2 separate regions of the Homo sapiens genome follow, and region 1 is linked to region 2. Evidence: promoter capture Hi-C in human tissues and cell types (Jung and others, 2019). All regions are on one chromosome and are shown on one strand. Each heading gives the region's core, a stretch centred on a gene start or on the middle of the fragment in contact. The rest is flanking DNA. Distances are from core to core; before and after follow the strand shown. Region 1 has its middle 40 kb from the start of LINC01795. Region 2 holds the start of FANCL (FA complementation group L).

Region 1 (6,697 bases), core at 2,219-4,718, 74 kb after region 2:
ATCCTGGCTAACAAGGTGAAACCCCGTCTCTACTAAAAATACAAAAAATTAGCCGGGTGCGGTGGCGGGCGCCTGTAGTCCCAGCTACTCGGGAGGCTGAGGCAGGAGAATGGCGTGAACCCGGGAAGCGGAGCTTGCAGTGAGCCGAGATTGCGCCACTGCAGTCCGCAGTCCGGCCTGGGCAACAGAGCGAGACTCCGTCTCAAAAAAAAAAAAAAAAAAAAAAAAAAACTTGATTTTATACATTTTAAGGGGGACAGAAGTTACAGGCAAACCTCAGCCAATACATGTAGGGTATACATTGATTTAGTCTGTTAAGTAGGGACAACTCGAAGCAGGGGTTTTCAGGTCATAGGTGCATTCAAAGACTTTCTGATTGACAATTAGTTGAAAGCATTGAGTTATTATCTAAAGACTTGGAATCAATAGAAGGAATGTCTGGATAAGATAAGGGGTTGTGGACAACAAGGTTCTTATTCAGTAGATGACGTCTCGCAGGTGGCTTAGAGGGAATAGGTGGCAAATGGTTTGTATTTAAACCTTTCAAATGTGTTAGATTCTTAGCTAATCTCTTCAGGATCAAAAAAAGATCTGGAAAGGGAAGGGGGTTCTCTACAGAATGCAAATTTCTCCCACAAGAGACAGCTTTGCAGGGCCATTTTAAAATATGTCAAAGAAATATATATTGGGGTAAAATAACTTCTTCCAGGGCTTGCAGTCTGTCATGGGATGCTATGCTAGAGTCAGGTTGAAATTTGGTATCTTATTGCTACAAAGTCTGTTTTGTCAGTCTTAAGATTTCTGTTTTAATGCTAATGCTGGTCAGCTGTGCCTGAATTCCAAAGGGAGGAGAGTATAATGAAGCATGTCCAACCCCTACATCCCATCATGGCCTGAACTAGATTTTCAGGTTTACTTTGGAATCCCCTTGGCTGAGGGAAGGGGTCTATTCAGTTGGTTTTGGGGCTTAGAATTTGATTTCTGGTTTACAAGATGTGTTAAGCCATTCTCACACTGCTATAAAGAAATACCTGAGACTGAATAATTTATAAAGAAAAGAGGTTTAGGCCAGGGGTGGTGGCTCACACCTGTAATCCCAGCACTTTGGGAGGCCAAGGTGGGCGGATTGCCTGAGGTCAGGAGTTCAAGACCCACCTGGCCAACATGGTGAAACCCGTCTCTACTAAACATACAAAAATTAGCCAGGTGTCATGGCGGGTGCCTGTAATCCCAACTACTTGGGAGGCTGAGGCAGGAGAATCACTTGAACCCAGGAGGCGGAGGTTGCAGTGAGCTGAGATTGTGCCACTGCACTCCAGCCCGGGTGACAGAGCAAAACTTATTCTAAAAAAAAAAGAGGTTTAATTGGCTCACAGTTCTGCAGGTTGTACAGGAAACATGGCATCATCTGCTCAGCTTCTGGGGAGCTCTCAGGAAACTTACAATCATAGCAAAAGGCAAAGAGGGGGTGAGATGTCTCACATGGCTGGAGCTAGGAGGAAGAGAGAGAGAGGAGAGATGCTACACACTTTTAAACAACCAGATCTCATGAGGTGGTCTTCAGTATGTCGGAAGAACAAAGAGAAGGTTGGAAATTCCAGGAAAAGAAGAAATGTTAGATATTGTTTCTCCAGAAAGTTCAATGGCACTAGTAAAGTTTTCGAGAGCTGGCAAGTGGTGGTGGTGGGTAAAAGGGGGCTTAGAGTTGCAACAGTTTATTTCAGAAACCAGTAAATAAAACTGGTTTCAAGTTACAGCAAGCAGTTTCAGCAGCCAGTCTTGCAGAGAATTAAATTCTTGGAGCAGCATCATGTGCCCTGAGGGCTTTTGCCACCTGGATTCTCCACTCTGTTTTAGTTGAGTATGACAAGAATGGCCCAATTATTATCCCTTTTCACAGAGTGTCAGGCCTCTGAGCCCAAGGTAAGCCATCATATCCCCTGTGACCTAGACATACACATCCAGATCGATGACATTCCACTGATGACATTCCACCACAAAAGAAGTGAAAATGGCCTGTTCCTGCCTTAACTGATGACACTGTCTTGTGAAATTCCTTTTCCTGGCTCATCCTGGCTCAAAAGCTCCCCCACTGAGTACCTTGTGACCCCCACTCCTGCCCACCAGAGAACAACACCCCTTTTTCCTTTACCTACCCAAATCCTATAAAATGGCCCCACCCCTATCTCCCTTCGCTGATTCTCTTTTCGGACTCAGTCTGCCTGCACCCAGGTGAAATAAACAGCCATGTTGCTCACACAAAGCCTGTTCGGTGGTCTCTTCACACAGACGCGCATGAAATTTGGTGCCGTGACTCAGATCGGCGGACCTCCCTTGGGAGATCAATCCCCTGTCCTCCTGTTCTTTGCTCCATGAGAAAGATCCACCTACAAGCTCAGGTCCTCAGACCGACCAGCCCAAGGAACATCTCACCAATTTTAAATCGGGTAAGCGGCCTCTTCTTACTCTCTTCTCCAACCTCTCTCACTGTCCCTCAACCACTTTCTCCTTTCCACTCTTCAATCTCTCCCTTCTCTTAATTTCAATTCCTTTCATTTTTCGGGTAGAGAAAAAGGAGACACGTTTTATCCGTGGACCCAAAACTCCGGCACCGGTCATGGACTAGGGAAGGCAGCCTTCCCTTGGTGTTTAACCTTTGCAGGGATGCCTCTCTGATTATTCACCCAGGTTTCAGAGGTGTCAGACCACGCAGGGACACCTGCCTTGGTCCTTCACCCTTAGCAGCAAGTCCCACTTTTCTGGGGGAAGGGGCAAGTACCCCAATCCCTTCTCTCCATGTCTCTACCCCTTCTCTGCCTTTCTGGGGGGCAAGAAACCCCCAACCCCTTCTCCTTCACCCTGAGTGGCAACTCCCGCTTTTCTAGAGGAGGGGCAAGTACCCCAACCTCGTATCTCTGTGCCCCGATCCCTTATTTCCACGCCCCGACCTCTTATATCTCTGCACCCTGATCCCTTATTTCCATGCCCTGACCTTGTATCTCTGTGCCCCGACCCCTTCTCTGCTTTTCTGGAGGGCAAGAACCCCCCACCCCTTCTCCGTGTCTCTACTCTTTTCTCTGGTCTTGCCTCCTTCACTATAGGCAAGCTTCCACCTTACATTCCTCCTTCTTCTCCCTTAGCCTGTGTTCTTAAGAACTTAAAACCTCTTCAACTCTCACCTGACCTAAAATCTAAGCGTCTTACTTTCTTCTGCAATTCCGCTTGACCCCAATACAAACTCAAAAGTAGTTCCAAATAGCCGGAAAATGGCACTTTCAATTTTTCCATCCTACAAGATCTAAATAATTCTTGTCGTAAAACGGGCAAATGGTCTGAGGTGCCTGACGTCCAGGCATTCTTTTACACATCTGTCACTCTCTAGTCTCTGTTCCCAATGCAACTCATCCCAAATCTTGCTTCTTTCCCTCCCACCTGTCCCCTCAGTCCCAATTCTTCTGCTAGGTCCCAATTCTTCTGCTCCTGACATTAAATAAAACTCCAAAAATTAAATTCCGGCCCTCAAACCCCACAACAGGATTTAATTAACCTCACCTTCAAGGTGTACAATAATAGAAAAAAGTTGCAATTCCTTGCCTCCACTGTGAGACAAACCCCAGCCACATCTCCAGCACACAAGAACTTCCAAACGCCTGAACTGCAGTGGCCAGGCATTCCTCCAGAACCTCCTCCCCCAGGAGCTTGCTACAAGTGCCAGAAATCTGGCCACCAGGCCAAGGAATGCCTGCAGCCCAGGATTCCTCCTAAGCTGTGTCCCATCTGTGCGGGACCCCGCTGGAAATCGGACTGTCCAACTCACCTGGCAGCCACTCCCAAAGCCCCTGGAACTCTGGCCCAAGGTTCTCTGACTCCTTCCCAGATCTTCTTGGCTTAGCGGCTGAAGACTGACGCTGCCCGATCACCTCGGAAGCCCCCTAGGCCATCACGGACGCCGAGCTTCGGGTAACTCGCAGTGGAGGGTAAGTCTGTCCCCTTCTTAATCAATACCGAGGCTACTCACTCCACATTACCTTCTTTTCAAGGGCCTGTTTCCCTTACCTCCATAACTGTTGTGCGTATTGACAGCCAGGCTTCTAAACCTCTTAAAACTCCCCAACTCTGGTGTCAACTTAGACAATACTCTTTTAAGCACTCCTTTTAGTTATCCCCACCTGCCCAGTTTCCTTATTAGGCCGAGACACTTTAACTAAATTATCAGCTTCCCTGACTATTCCTGGATTACAGCTACATCTCATTGCCGCCCTTCTTCCCAATCCAAAGCCTCCTTTGCGTCCTCCTCTTGTATTCCCCTACCTCAACCCACAAGTGTAAGATACCTCTACTCCCTCTTTGGCGACCGATCAAGCACCCCTTACCATCTCATTAAAACCTAATCACCCTTACCCTGATCAATGCCAATATCCCATCCCACAACATGCTTTGAAAGGCTTTAATCCTTTCAAAGCATGTTATCACTCGCCTGCTACAGCATGACCTTTTAAGGCCTATAAACTCTCCTTACAATTCCCCCGTTTTACCTGTCCTAAAACCAGACAAGCCTTACAAGTTAGTTCAGGATCTATGCCTTATCAACCAAATTGTTTTGCCTATCCACCGCATGGTGGCAAACCCATATACTCTCCTATCCTCAATACCTCCCTCCAAATCCATTATTCTGTTCTGGATCTCAAACATGCTTTCCTTACTATTCCTTTGCACCCGTCATCCCAGCCTCTCTTCGCTTTCACTTGGACTGACCCTGACACCCATTAGGCTCAGCAAATTACCTGGGCTGTACTGCCGCAAGGCTTCACAGACAGCCCCCATTACTTCAGTCAAGCCCAAATTTCATCCTCATCTGTTACCTATCTTGGCATAATTCTCATAAAAACACACGTGCTCTCCCTGCTGATCATGTCCGATTAATCTCCAAAACCTCAATCCCTTACAAAACAACTCCTTTCCTTCCTAGGCATGGTTAGTGCAGTCAGAATTCTTACACAAGAGCCAGGACCGCACCCTGTAGCCTTTCTGTCCAAACAACTTGACCTTACTGTTTTAGCCTAGCCATCATGTCTCTGTGCAGCGGCTGCTGCCGCCCTAATACTTTTAGAGGCCCTCAAAATCAAAAACTATGCTCAACTTACTCTCTACATTTCTCACAACTTCCAAAATCTATTTTCTTCCTCATACCTGACGCATATACTTTCTGCTCCCCAGCTCCTTCAGCTGAACTCACTCTTTAAGTCCCACAACTACCATTGTTTCTGGCCCGGACTTCAATCTGGCCTCCCACATTATTCCTGATACCACACCTGACCCCCATGACTGTATCTCTCTGATCCACCTGATATTCACCCCATTTCCCCATATTTCCTTCTTTCCTGTCCCTCACCCTGATCACGCTTGATTTATTGATGGCAGTTCCACCAGGCCTAATCGCCACACACCAGAAAAGGCAGGCTATGCTATAGTACCAGCCACTAGCCCGCCTCTTAGAACCTCTCATTTCCTTTGCATCATGGAAATCTATCCTCAAGGAAATAACTTCTCAGTGTTCCATCTGCTATTCTACTACTCCTCAGGGATTATTCAGGCCCCCTCCCTTCCCTACACATCAAGCTCGAGGATTTGCCCCCACCCAGGACGGGCAAATTAGCTTTACTCAACATGTCCCGAGTCAGGAAACTAAAATACCTCTTAGTCTAGGTAGACACTTTCACTGGATAGGTAGAGTCCTTTCCTACAGGGTCTGAGAAGGCCACCACAGTCATTTCTTCCCTTCTGTCAGACATAATTCCTCAGTTTAGCCTTCCCACCTCTATACAGTCTGATAACAGACCAGCCTTTATTAATCAAATCAGCCAAGCAGTTTTTCAGGCTCTCAGTATTCAGTGAAACCTTTATATCCCTTACGGTCCTCTGTCTTCAGAAAAAGTAGAATGGACTAAAGGTCTTTTAAAAACACACCTCACCAAGCTCAGCCACCAACTTAAAAAGGACTGGACAATACTTTTACGACTTTCCCTTCTCAGAAGTCAGACCTGTCTTCAGAATGCTACAAGGTACAGCCCATTTGAGCTCCTGTGTAGACGCTCCTTTTTATTAGGCCCCAGTCTCATTCCAGACACCAGACCAACTTAGACCGTGCCCCAAAAAAAACTTGTCATCCCTACTATCTTCTGTCTAGTCATACTCCTATTCACCGTTCTCAACTACTCATACATGCCCTGCTCTTGTTTACACTGCCGGTTTACACTGTTTCTCCAAGCCATCACAGCTGATATCTCCTCGTGCTATCCCCAAACTGCCACTCTAAACTCTTGAAGTAAATAAATAATCTTTGCTGGCAGGACTATGCTGAATGTCCTTAGGCACTCTCTAATCAGATGTCCTGAGTCGTCCCAGTTGTTAGACCTTTTATACCTGTTTTTCTCCTTCTCTTATTCCATTTAGTTTTTCAATTCATACAAAACTGTATCCAGGCCATCACCAATAATTCTAAATTACAAATGTTCCTTCTAACAACCCCACAATATCACCCCTTACCACAAAATCTTCCTTCAGCTTAATCTCTCCCACTCTAGGTTCCCACGCCGCCCCTAATCCCGCTCGAAGCAGCCCTGAGAAACATCGCCCGTTATCTCTCCATACCATCCCCCAAAATTTTTGCTGTCCCAACACTTTACCACTATTTCAT
Region 2 (7,515 bases), core at 3,325-5,824:
TTAAAATAAAGAAGTAAAGATAAACCATGGTAACATCAATCAAAAGAAAGATGCAATCTATATGTTAATATTGGAAAATACAGATTTCAGAGAAAACATTATTACTAAAGATAAAAAAGGTCATTTCATAATCCTAAAGGAGTCAATTCATAAAGAGTGCTTAACAATTCTAAAAGTTTATGGACCTAATAACAGAACTTCAAAATATATGAAGCAAAACTGATAGAAATTAAATAGAAATTGAAAAATCAACAAAGATCGTTGGAGATTTCAACACCCCCTCTCACTAACTGATAGAAAAAGCAGACAAAAAAGTCAGTGAGCACAGTGCTACCCAATAAGGGCCTGGGTAGCACTCTGAACCAATTTGACCTAACTGGCATTTATATAATACTCTACCCAATAGCAACAGAATAGTCATTCTCTTAGAGTACACACAGTATATTCACCAGGATAGACTATATTATTGGTCATAAAATTAAGGCTCAATAAATATTTTAAAAATTTAAATCATACAAGTTATATTCTGTGACCAAAATGAAACTAAATTATAAATCAATAACAAAAAGATATCTAGAAAATCCTTAATATTGAGAAAGATAATCATAATTCTAAGTGAGCCATAGATCAAAGAAGAAATTAAAAGGCATTTGGAACTGAATAAAAACAAAACTACAGCACACCAAAATGTGTGTGATATAGCTAAACCAGTATTCAAAAGAAAATTTAAAGCACTAAATATCTGTACTAGAATAGAAGAAAGATCTCATATCAATAATCTTCCATCTAAAGAAATCAGGAAACTTAAGATCAGAAAACTATCATATAGAAACATAAAAATAATAGAAAAAAATTGAAGAAATTAAAGACAGGTTCTTTGAAGAAATCAGTAAAATTTATAAACCTCTATCTAGATGTATCGGGGGAAAAAATGAGACATAAATTACCTACATCAGATATGAGGATGAAAGCTATTTTTAACGTATATCCATAAATTATTTGACACTCCTACCTCTAGGAGTTGGTGCCTAATTTCCCTCCTTTTGAATATAGACTAAGAAACTTGCATCTAACACAATAAAGCAGAAGTAAATGTGTGTGACTTCAGAGACTAAGAGATTAAAGAGAATGTGCATCTTTATTGATCTCTCTGTTGTATCATACACTCAGGAGAAGCTAGCTGCCATGTGTGATAACAGTCAAGCAACACTATAAAGATCCATGTGGTGAGGAACTAAGGCCTCCTGTTAAGAGCAGTAACAAACTGAGGCCTCATGGCCAATAGCTATGTGAATGAGCAATCTTGGAAGCAAATCCTCCACCTCTAGCTTGACCAACTGGCAGCCCAGGACAGCTCTGAATGCAGCCCAACACAAATTAATAAACTTTCTTAAAACATTATGGGATTTTTTGTGATTTTTTTTTAGCTTATCAGCTATCATTAGTGTATTTTATGTGTGCCCAAGACAATTCTTCTTCTTCCAATGTGACCCAGGGAAGCCAAAAGATTGGACACCCTGTTTTAGACCATCAAAGTCTTGGCAAATATCTTGATTGCAAGATCATGAGAGATTTTGATCAAGAACTACCATCCAAGTTGTTCGCAAATTTCAAATCCACAGAAACAGTGAGACAATAATTGTTTTTGTTTTAAGCCACTAAGGTTTGAAGTAAATAGCAGCAAAAGATAACCAACATAGAGAGCATCATTACAGATCCTAAAGACATTAAAAGGATAATAAGGGATTATTGTAAATAACTTTAAGCCAATAAAATCAGAAACCTAGATGAAACTAACAAATTCCTTGAAAGACACAAACTACCAAAGCTCACTCAAAAGGAAAGAGAAAATCTGATAATAGAGACAACACCTAAAACTGATTACATATTAGGTCACAGGAAAAAGTACCAGTAAGTTCCATGGAGACTTTTTTATAAACAATACTGTCTAATTACAATACAAGAAAAATTAGAAATCAGCAACAAAATTAAAAACCAAAAAGGACCTTCCACGAGAAAATTTTTACAACCTATTAAGGTGCATAGTAAATTGACATCATATAGCTTCTAAAAATGGTGGTTATAAGGCTACATGTCAGCATCTATAGGATACTTTTAAAACACTGATGAGAGGAAATGCAAAGCCTTAAAAACTTACATACATAAAACCTGCTCACTGGCCAAATCTGGGACAATTCGAGGATCAAAATAAATAATGATTATAATCAAGTAATTTTTTTAAAAGTCCATGCATCCATTCTAATATAATTAAATAAATGAGAAAGCAGGCAATGCTACTCCTTATAATGAATTGCCACTTCATAAATATAGAAATGACAAGAGTTAGAAAATCATCATTTGGCAACCGTGATAGTAATAGTCGACTCAAGCAAAAGTCAATGGACGCTAAAACCAGAGAATGTGTGTGAAAGTTTGATGCCTCAGAGTACCTCCCCAAAAGTACTTATTAATTACAAAAGGAGACTCTGACAGATGATACCTTAACCAGGTGATCAAAGTTAACATCATTAATAATGGAACCAACCAGGTAACCTCACAAGCCTTGAGAAGGACAAAACAATCTTTCTGTAGTATCCCTGCCAAAAATGCATTAGCTGAATTTAATAGTGAGGAAATATCATCCAAACCCAAATTGAGATACATTCTACCTAACAGCCAATCTGTACTCTTTAAAAATGTCTAGCTTATAAAAAACACAAACAGACTGAGAATTGTTCCAGGTTAGACATGACAACTAAATGTAATGTGGGATCTTAACAACAGATGGTAGGGGATGGGGGTATAAAACATACAACTGTATCATAAACAAAATTTGAAATATGGACTCTATCTTAGATAATAGTATATCATTAAATATCCTGATTTTAATCACTGTACTGTGGTTATGTATGAGTGTGTCCTCGTTCTTATGAAATGTATGCTCAAGTATTTAGGGATAAAGGGGAACTACGCCTGATTTGACCTCAAATGGTTCAGGAAAATAATGTGTATACACACCCACCCACATACATATACTTAACAATGATCAGTAAAATGGAGAAAATGTAAACTGGTGAATCTAGGTAAAGGGTATACTGGAATTACTTGTACTGTATATCCTTGCTACTTTTCTGTAAATTTAAAATATATACAAAATATTTTTAGACACGTAAAATGTTTAAGATTTAAATAAACTGCTAAGGCAGGTACAAATTGGAATTCTAGCTATAGCAATGGTCATAAAAGAAACTTTCATCTAATCTCAATTCTAATGGGTGTACTTGTTTCCTAAAAGGCCTTAGCAGATATAGACATACATAACAGTATTTTGCCTAAAATTAGGTATAACATGCTTCCTGTAAAAAAAAAAAAAAAAAAGTAACTTAAAATTTTTCAACTTTTCTAAATGTTGTCTACAAGAGAATCATATTTTCAGCTAGGTAATTCAAGAAGAATACTTCTAATTGGAGAGGGAAAGGTGGATTAACTTTTTTCCATATGGAATAATGAATTTTTAACCTCTACTTTCTGTGATGGTCATATGGTAATTCCACATATACTCAAAGACTATGCGTGATGGTGGGGAAGTGGGCACAAGGTTGAGTGTAATGGTCAGAAAGGAAAAGTCTACACTCCTAACCTAAGGTATCCTGGTGCAATGTAAAGAGAAAAAAATCCAGGACTGAAATCACACAGCCTGCGTTTAAGGGATTCTGATGTGATCATCAGCAAATAACGTCTCCGGTTTCCCATACCTTGATTTCTTCAACTAGAAAATGGGAATGATGATTCTTTTAAAAATTTCTGCCTCAAAGGGCTGAGGATTAAGTGAACTATTTACCTGGAAAGCGCTTTGTAAACTTCAAAACCCTACACATGTGTTAGTATGTGTAATAAACTCCATATGAGAGGCCACTGGAATCAGCAAAGTTAATTAATTCCATTGCTGTCATGCTTCTCCTAGAAGATATTGTAACTGTGGGTGTACAGGTACATACGACTTGGCAAAGGGCCAAAATAAGGTTTTCTTCCCAAATGTTCTTTCTACAGGAAACACGAAAATAATTAGCCCAGATTCCCGAGTGAACTCATCAACATCCGTGGAGGTGGAGGGTGTTAAAATCGAGTTAAGGCAAAATTTACAAAAAAAAAATTAAAAAACAGTCAATTGCGGGACACTGAACGAAGAAGGAAGCCAAACTCGGGGAAGGGCTAGGGAGAGAGGAGGCGTGGCCCCAGCCCCGCTCCACGCCGCGCGCCTCCTCGCTCCCCATCCAGCGCGGCGACCACCGGGGTGGCGGCGACAGCGGCGCTTCTCAAACCTTTAGTCTCCCAAGAGCCGTTACGCGCCGCCCCTCTCAATCCCCACAAGTCTGGGCCCCTAACCTCCTAGCCCGTCACAGACTTCTCCGCGCAGCTACGCTGCAAGAGGCTCTCTTAGCTAGAAAGCAACCACTGGGCGGGTACCTGAGCCGAGATGAATCCCTCATACACGGTTTTCGACCGGTTCTGGGGCAGAAGCAGGGGGCACTGGCGCAACAGGCTCGCTTCCGTCACCGCCATGGCTCGAAGTCCGGAGAAACACAGAAAAGCTCTAGACCTGCTGGGTCCTGCACATGCGCAGTCCGCTGGCGCTCGGACGCCGCGGAGCGGAAACCCCAGCCTTGGCGGGAAGATCCTGGAGGATTCCGCGGGCGGAAATGAAGGTGAAGCGCAGGCCAGGCCAAGTGGCGCTCTGCGGGAGGCGACATCAGGGCTCCCCAACCGGTAGTGGGAGGGAAGATTGCCCTCAAGTCCACAGGACTGACTGACCAAGATCATTCTAGCCTCAATTGTCCCAGGAGCCCTTTCGATGATTCTGTTTTACTTTATTGAAAGACTGTTACAACTTTGGTGTTGCATTTCCTCCAGAATAAAATGACTTTTACAGCCTGGACGTTGTAGCACTCTGTCTTCTTTGCTGTTGTCCTCTCTCCCTTAACATACAGAATAATGTATTATTTTGTGTATAATTATTGTAATATAATGTATAACACATTGATTATATCATATATATTACAGTTCTGTGGCTTACTAAGTTCAATCAGATATATTTGAGGCACACACATGTATACGTATATGTGTATTGATTAGACTCAAGTCAACACTGGACTCAGTTCTGTGTACGGCACTCACAAATATATAAAGCAAAACATGAGTAAAGATTGCTGATGGACTTGAACTTAATTTTCCTCTGACAGCGCTTGCAATATGTTTTTCTAACTCAGGAATGTTATCCATCCCATCTTATTAAGAGTTGATTAAATAAGAAACCTACTAAAATATTTACCATATGATTATTTGATTTTCCAATTTTCCAATTTTCCAATGCATCACGTTTGAGCCCTACTATTTGAAAAACATCATTGTAATGTGCCAAAGGTTGAGCAAAGATTATTTCGTCCCCTACCCATCTTTATTGACCTCAAGACAGAATTTGACATCCTGAAGATTCTTAAAGTTTGACAAGAATTTGTCACAGCATTCTGGATGCTTACAGAAAAGAATGCTGGAGCAGTGGTTAGATATAAATTACATTAAAGCAGTGGTTCTCAAAACGTGATCCTAGAACCTAGCAACAGCATCACCTGGGAACTATGTAGAAATACAAGTTTTCACCGCTGATGGGGTTCAGGATATGCTACCCCAAAATATGGCCCCTTGACATTTGAGAAAACAACAAAACCTAAGATCACTCTCTGACCTTCTCCCATCCTTCTTCCCTGAGGCGGGTCATTGGATCCTCAATCCAGAGGTGCTCTTCCTATACCCACAGGAAAGAAATATCCTTATCTCTAAAGAAACGGAGACATAGAAAAGAATCTGAACAAAAAGACCTTTGACAACTTACCCCAGTTTATTACCATTAGACCATGCTTTGTCCAACCGTACTTCCCCACAACTGTCCACTGTTCCTTCTAAAAATGCACAGGTTTTCCTGTTTCTTTGGGCTTCATCTCTGAAGGCTCCCATGCCACATAAAACTTAAATAAATTTGCACGCTTTTCTCTTATTAATCTGTCTTTTCTTATAAGGGACTCAAACAGGAATCTAGCAACAGGAAAGAAAGATGTTTCTCATTCCCTACAGGCCCCTATTTCAAACCTCGGGAATCCCAAACACTGGCAATAGGGCTCAGCAGTCTGCGTTTTAACAAGCTCTCCAGGTGATTCTGATGCATGCTAAGGTTTGAGGATCTCTGCAGGGGCAGGACATAACACCTGCTTTATTTTGCAACTCGGTAATTAAGGACGGCCATGCTACATGTTTTCCTATAAGAATAAAGTAGAGGCTGTGCAAAAGTGGGATCAACACAAAGATTAAGAGAACATATAGTCCCTTACTTCAAGCACTTTATAATTTATCTGTGAATTAAGATCTTTATTGTATCCAGTATGTTAAACTTCCCCACCACCACACTTTCCCCCATGGAACTTCTACCCTTTCTTTAAAGTTCTTCTCAAGTGCTATGTCTTTTTGGAAAGCTTTTTTAATCTTCTGAAAATTATTGCTCTCCCTAATCATTTAGCATATTTCCTGCTGCATCGTAGGTGCTAATAAATTATTTACTAAATATCTTAATTTGGGTTGTTATAGCAGAATACCATAAACTGGATAGGTAATCCGCAGAAATTAATTATTTCTTAGTTATGGAGGCTGAGAAGTCCAAAATCAAGACGCAAGGACAAGATTTGGTGTCTGGTGAGGAGTCACTTCCTGGAACACAGTCTTTTGGCTGTGACCTTACATCACATTCACCTTTACTATTGATACACTGGACAGTGTGACCACTTGCCAAAAGCAGTTGGCTCCTTGATTCGGAATCCCCATAATTAGGTAACTAGACTTAAAGATTTCCAGCACGTTTATTGCTAATTTATCATCTTAGATTTTAAAGAAAAGACATCCAAGTCACTGTTATGATAGTTGAACTTGTAAATGAGCATTCCTTATCAATAAAATCTATAATTGAAGAAATCCAATGACCAAGGAACAAGGTAAGATACCATATAAAAACTTTTTAATTCAATTACTCGACTATTATCCTTAGGTGTTCAAGACTGAAAGTTGGATACTCACTACCATCATCAATTCATACGTGGTTGTGCTGGAACCATTTATATATAGCCCAGTTGAAGTCAGCCACCCCAAAATCCAAAAAAAAAAAAAACAAAAATGCTCAATATGTTTAAAGATCAGAAAGCCAAGGAACTACTTCTACCACCATCAGCATGATTTCAATTTTGGAATCACTCTGACAAACTGCACAAAGATCCTCATTAAAGTTCAAGTTCCACCAGGTATCCTAGGCAGGATTTCATTTATATACTTTGCCACAAAAATTACTACTATTTAAATGCTATTGCCTGAGGAAGAACTTTATATTCTAACACAGAAAAATATCCAAACATTTTGACAAATAAAAAGCACAAATTCCAGAATGGTATGCTTACTATTATAACATTTATATTCAAA

What was found. The method cuts DNA at HindIII sites, captures the fragments that hold promoters and counts their contacts. A contact is called where the count stands out against the background at its distance.
Region 1: a contact is called between a fragment that was not itself captured here and the fragment with the promoter of FANCL in region 2, in 2 of the 25 tissues and cell types used here (H1 embryonic stem cells and neural progenitor cells).

What each region holds. Positions count from the first base shown.
Region 1 is chr2:58,312,267-58,318,963 of GRCh38, forward strand. No RefSeq gene overlaps it. Among named protein-coding and RNA genes, the nearest start is that of LINC01795, 40 kb to the left of the region's middle. The HindIII fragment of the contact is 6,088 bases long and covers 425-6,512 here.
Region 2 is chr2:58,236,751-58,244,265 of GRCh38, forward strand. FANCL (FA complementation group L) reads right to left here and starts at 4,575. Exons shown (of 14, transcript NM_018062.4): 1 at 4,468-4,575. The coding sequence starts at 4,563. RefSeq lists a silencer at 4,173-4,222 and an enhancer at 4,763-4,922. The HindIII fragment of the contact is 14,155 bases long and covers 1-7,515 here.